2 separate regions of the Homo sapiens genome follow, and region 1 is linked to region 2. Evidence: promoter capture Hi-C in human tissues and cell types (Jung and others, 2019). All regions are on one chromosome and are shown on one strand. Each heading gives the region's core, a stretch centred on a gene start or on the middle of the fragment in contact. The rest is flanking DNA. Distances are from core to core; before and after follow the strand shown.

Region 1 (2,700 bases), core at 154-2,653, 75 kb after region 2:
TTTTATACTGTAGCAGTGAACAGCAGGTACTCAATCATGAAGAGCTAAGCCTGATTTCATCACGACAGCTGTGAAAGTTGCAGGTACCAAAATGGAACTACTTCCACCAATCCCTAAACAAATGGAGTCGGGAGGCCACGAAGGGGGAGCTCTCATGCAGGAATACCTGCAGCAGGCCTCCTCACAAGACGCTCCTGCACGTCCTGCACGTTTGCCTGTAACCGGACTTACTGCAGGGAAATTCCTCAGGACTGCAGTATTCTAGATAAGCAGCTTGCACAAGGACGTCGGCCTGGTAAGGCTCTCTCCAACAACAAGCTAACGCCCACTCCTGCAGCAAGCGCCCACAGCCAGTGGTTTTTGTTACAAAACAACTTTTGTGAGCTCATCTGTATTTTCCCCTTCGCCCGGCCCTCTCAGATAGGCCTATGATCTGTCATGGCACGAACAGCCTAGGCTGCAACCCCCTGCGATTCCCAGATTAACTCACTTGTCCTGGAGAGCCTGCCTCTGGGTTTCCTTTCAGGTTGACAGTTTGGGAGCTAACAGGACCACGTGAGGGGTGCAGCGGGGAAGATCAGCCAGGTTCTCAGGGACCTTCTCCGGAAGTACGCAATGTCTACAATTAAGAAATGAGAGGCCGGGCGCGGTGGCTCACGCCTATAATCCCAGCACGTTGGGAGCCCTAGGAGGGCAGATCACGAGGTCAGGAGTTCGAAATCAGCCTGGCCAAAATGGTGAAACCCCGTCTTGACTAAAAATGCAAAAATTAGCTGTGCGTGGTAGCGCATGCCTGTAGTCCCAGCTGCTCGGGAGGCTGAAGCAAGAGAATAGTTTAAGCCCTGGAGGCGGAGGTTGCAATGAGCCGAGATCGCGCCATTGCACTCCAGCCTGGGCGACAGGGCGAGGCTCCGTCTCCAAAAAAAAAAAAAGAAAGAAAGAAAGAAATGAGAAACTAGCAGTGCATTGTTCAGAAACGCGGAGACTTCTCTCAGGAGAAAGCGAGAAGCAAGCGTCCAACTCTGGGGTGCAGAACCCGGGGCGGGAGGACGGGCCCGGACTGCCGTTTCTCGCTGTGTCCAGGTCTGCGTGACTCAAAACCCCGGATAGGGCCCGCACTGGTGGAGTCGGAAAGAGGTGGCTGCGGCGCGGCAAGTGCCGCCAGTGCCAGCGAGCGCGACGTCGCTCCCAAGCCCCCGTCTCTATGGCAACCGAGTGCGTCTCTAGGACCGCCACTGCGCAGGCGCCCGGAGGCTAAGCCGCTCGGAACCTAGCTGCGCCACGCAGGGTAGGCGACGCAGACGCTCCCGCGTGACGCACTTCCGGTGCTTGCCCTGCCCATCCCCGTGGCGGGGGCGTGGCCATGGCGGGGGCGCTCCGGCGGGGGCGGGCCCTGGGCTCCCGCCCTTCGGGTCCCACAGTTTCCAGCCGCCGCTCTCCTCAGTGCCCGGTGGCCCAGGAGGGCCTGGGAGCCCGAAGCCGTCCCCGAGTCGCTCCTAGGTCACTGGCGCGATGCGGGCCGTCCTCTCGGCTGATGGTGCGTGCGGGCGCGGATCTCCTCCCCTGGTCCTCCGCACCGTCCCCGAGTCGTTCTCCGCTCTGGCAGAACGCGAGCGCCGTCCGGTTCCCGCTCCCGCTGGCCCAGCAGCCCCGGGCTGGACTCGGCGTAGGGTCCGCACGGGATGGGCTGGGGCTGCGCGCGCAGCGCCGCCGCGGGGCCTCCTGGGAGTTGTGGTCCGGCCACCCGCGCGGGACTCCAGCTCCCGGCAGGCCTCGCGCGGCCCGGGGCCAGCGGCGCTGGGGTCGGCGCTGGGGTCGTCGTCCGGGCCGGGTGGGCTGCGGCGCGCGGCAGGCGCTCTGGCCTGGCCTGGCCGCCGCTGAGCAGTCGGGGCCGGTGGGTGGCCTCGAACGCCGGGACAGACCGACAGACGGACTGGCCGGCGGTCCCGCGCCCCCGAGCGGAGCGGGCGGGACGGAAACGTCCGGGCAAGTTGGGGTCGGCAGGTACTGCGCGGCCCTGGCAAGGTCTGGCAGCGGACAGGGCCGGGCGGCCTCCGCGAGCCACGGGCACGAATGACAGGGGGCGGGGCGCGCTCCGGGTGGGGGTGCCCGCCGTGCCCGCCCCTGGCCCGCCCGTTCCCCTGCGCCGGCGCCCGTGCGCGTCCCGGAGCCTCCTGACGTCTGCGAGCCGCGGCCGCCAGACCCCGGGCGCACGCAATTACGGGCCCGGCGCTGGCGGCTCCTGCGCGCTCAGACCCCAGGGAGCCCATCCGGGCAGGCGGCGGCCCTGAGTGTCGCGGCCGTGGGCCCGAGTGGACCTGGAGCCGGCGGGCAGCCCCGGGGGCAGACAGGCGACCGAGCCGCGGGTCGAGGTGCTAACTGTGCATCTTGGCATCTCCCCTCGGCCACAGGGTTGGAAGCCCAGCGAGGCTAGAGGCCAGTCCCAAAGTTTCCAGGCATCAGGGCTGCAGCCCAGGAGCCTCAAGGCGGCCCGGCGGGCGACTGGACGGCCGGACAGGTGAGCTCTTGATCGTCCGCGGCCTGATAGTTTGCACTTGGCTCTCCCACTTTGGGGCTCCGTGGAAGCCACGTCAGAGAGGCTGTGTTTGTGTCTGAGCATGCATGCGAGTGGAGGGGAGTGGTGAGTAATCCCGCGTCTCCTCTCTGAGTTCGGAACCCATGGAGGAAGAAAGCAGAGGT
Region 2 (2,932 bases), core at 299-2,798:
TTCGTACATGGACGTACAAACATGCATGGCCAAGAGGATCCCATCGCTACACGTGCACAGAGGGGGTCACACGGTGGGTGCGGGGGGTCTGGGCGCTCCCCTCAATCTGAATGACCTTGAGGAAGCTCCACCTCCCCGCTGCCCCCCCAGCCCATCCCTCAGCTCCTCTCCAGCCCGGGGGTGGTGCCCAGTGCCCCTCAAGGCAGGCCCTTCCCGCCTTGACCTGCATTCCCCTGCCCAGGGACTCAGTGCAGGGCCCAGCCCTGTGCCAGCAGGCGCTTCCTGCCCCAGCCCTGATGAGGCTGGCTTGGGTCTCCACTGTGGACATCACACTGGGCTGCGGCTTTCCGGCCTCCAGGCTGGACCAGGAGGCCCCGTGACCCATTCCGCCATCACCCTGGAGGCCTCTAGGAACGGCGTCCTAAAGCCATGCGCCCCCAGGAGACCCCCGCCCACCTTGAGACAGCTCCTCCCCCTGCGCACCTGGCAGCCCTCAAGGGTGGAAGGCGGCTCGCGGCCTGCGTGGGGCTGGTTCCCCCGCGCCCCGAGTGGGCCCCGCCACACATGTGCGCTCACGCGTGTCGAGCCGGCGCCGGTTGTGGACTCACCGGCCACAGTTGCAGTGGCAGACGCGGTCCTCGCCCCGCAGGTGCGGGAGGATGTAGTTGTGGAATCGGTCCAGCAGCGCGTTCATGTCCATCAAGCACGCGATGGCCTGGAAGAGCTCATGACCGGTCAGCGCCAAGGAGCGGGCGGGACGAAGCGGGGCTGGGGGTGGGGAGCGCAGGCCGGGGTCGGGGCAGCGCAAGCGGGGAGCGAGAGCGCAGGCCGGGGTGAGGGGAGCGTAGGCCTTGGTAGGGGGAGCGCAGCGGGTATGGGGATCGCAGGCTGGGGAGGGGAGCGCAGGCCGGGGTGGGGGGAGCGCAGGCCCGGGAGGGGACCGCGGGCCGGGGAGGGGGAAGCGCAGGCCGGGGTGGGGGGAGCGTAGGCCGGAGAGAGGAGCGTAGGGAGTGTGGGGATCGCAGGTTGGGGAGGGGAGCGGAGGCCGGGGTGGGGGAGCGCAGGCCGGGGAGGGGAGCGCAGGCCGGGGAGGGGAGCGCAGGCCGGGGAGGGGAGCGCAGGCCGCACGGGCGGTAAACAAGGCGCGGGAGGTGGGCCAGGCGGCGCGCGCGGGCGGGGAGCAGGGGGCGCGCGCGGGAAGCCCCTCCGCTCACCATCACGACCGACGCCCCCAGAATCATGAAGATCATGGTGTTCGCGCTCATGGACATCGGGCGGGGCCGGGCCGGGCCGGAGCGCCGCCCCCCGGCCCCGGCGCCCCCCCGGCCCCGGCCCGATGCTGAGCCCCCGCCGCCTCCGCAGAGGTCAGCGCTTCCCTGGATCGTCCGCCGCCGCTCGCTGCAACCCCGGCACCGGCCGGGGGGAGGAGGCGCGGGGGGGGGGGCGCCGGGGAGGGACGCGGGGCCTTTCTGGGGTCTCTCGGCCCGGCCCGCCGCGCTCCGCTCCGCCCTCGGGTCCTCCCTGCGATGCGCTCGGCTCGGCTCGACTCGGCTCCGCTCGGCTCCGGCCCCCTCCCTGCCTCCTCCTCCCTCCTCCCCCCTCCCTCCCCGCCGCCTTCCTCCGCCTCTCGGGAGGGACCGCGCAGACCGCAGGCCGCCCCGTGCCAGCGCCGGGAGGAGACCGCCATCCCCCGGACGCCGGCCGGGACCCCTCCCCGGGAGCCTCGGCTTCGCGTCCCGCCCCAGTCTGGTCAGACCCAGCCCCGGTGGCCTGTCCGGTGACCCTGGACGCCAGTCCTCCGGTCCTGGAGGGGCGCCGAGGCCCTTCCCGCCCCACTGCTCCGCCCTACGTCCTGGACTCCCAGGTCGCCGGGTGCGGGACTGCCCCAGTCCGCTCGGCACGCACGTGCCTCCAGGGTGGGGTCCGCAAGGTCGCGACAGCCCCACGGCCGTGGGGGCCACAGGTCAGGGACGGGATGACCCCTGGAATCCTCAACGGAGGGATGTGGCACAGGAGCCGAGGGCAGGGCCGCCCCGCACAGGCTTCCCTTAGGGCGGGGACGAGGGGGTCAGCCCAGGCCCATGGGTCGGGACGCCGGCCATTCAGAGGCCCAGTGGCCACCACTCCGCTGTGGCTGTCCCTGGCTCGGGGTCCTGAGGCCAAACTCTCATCCACGACCGGTGACCATGTCTCAGGCCCGGGAGCCGACCCCCGGCCTCAGCAGGAAGTCAGCGGGAAGCTATGCCTGGGACCCAGCCTGGGTCGTGGCGCCATCCAGGCTCACTGCAGCCTCCACTCCTGGGCTCAGGCGATCCTCCCGGCTCAGCCTCCCCCGTAGCTGGCCTTGGGGGATCCCCGCCCGGGGGGGTTCCACATGGAGAGGGGACGCCGCTCCACCACAGGCAGCAGTTGTGGCAGGAGCAGGCGGCTTCCGCTTCAGGCAGCACAGGCACGGGTAGGCCCAGACCCTGTCAGCACCACCAGGTCTGAGCTACTCCTCCCAAGCAGTGGTCGGAGGTCACTGAGGGCGGCAGGGCTAGGCCTCTGCCACCTCCTCAGGGGCGAGGGTCGGGCCAGGAATTCAGGACCAGGCACAATGACAGCAGCATCTGTTTATTGACAATTCCAGGTCATTCCTAACACGCCGCAGCAGGGCTCTGTACAGTCCGGCCCGGTGGGGAGGAGGGAGGGAAGGCAGGCACACGAAGACACAGGTATGTCGGGAAGTGCACACAAACCGTTGTCTTTCCTTTTTGGTTAAAGAAGAAAAACTTTGTAATCAATATCCTGCTCATAAGTAAAAGTGGAAAAGAAGAAACTTGATTGCTTTCATCTGGCGTTTTGGCATCTCCTCTCCCATTTCATATGCACAGTTTATTTGGGTAATGCTACCGTCACCAGCAGAACACCTGTAAGTAAAAACAAATGTCAG

Evidence for each region. Contacts are between HindIII fragments. The study calls those that stand out against the background at their distance.
Region 1: a contact is called between the fragment with the promoter of MIB2 here and the fragment with the promoter of TMEM240 in region 2, in 1 of the 25 tissues and cell types used here (adrenal gland).

The regions. Positions count from the first base shown.
Region 1 is chr1:1,614,097-1,616,796 of GRCh38, forward strand. It overlaps MIB2 (MIB E3 ubiquitin protein ligase 2), which reads left to right and starts at 1,404. Exons shown (of 20, transcript NM_001170687.4): 1 at 1,404-1,537; 2 at 2,412-2,518. RefSeq lists an enhancer at 899-1,068 and silencers at 1,169-2,218, 2,249-2,338. The HindIII fragment of the contact is 4,042 bases long and covers 1-2,700 here.
Region 2 is chr1:1,539,076-1,542,007 of GRCh38, forward strand. TMEM240 (transmembrane protein 240) reads right to left here and starts at 1,549. Exons shown (of 4, transcript NM_001114748.2): 1 at 1,215-1,549; 2 at 609-715. The coding sequence starts at 1,271. It overlaps SSU72 (SSU72 homolog, RNA polymerase II CTD phosphatase), which reads right to left. Exons shown (of 5, transcript NM_014188.3): 5 at 2,598-2,932. RefSeq lists a silencer at 134-428. The HindIII fragment of the contact is 20,414 bases long and covers 1-2,932 here.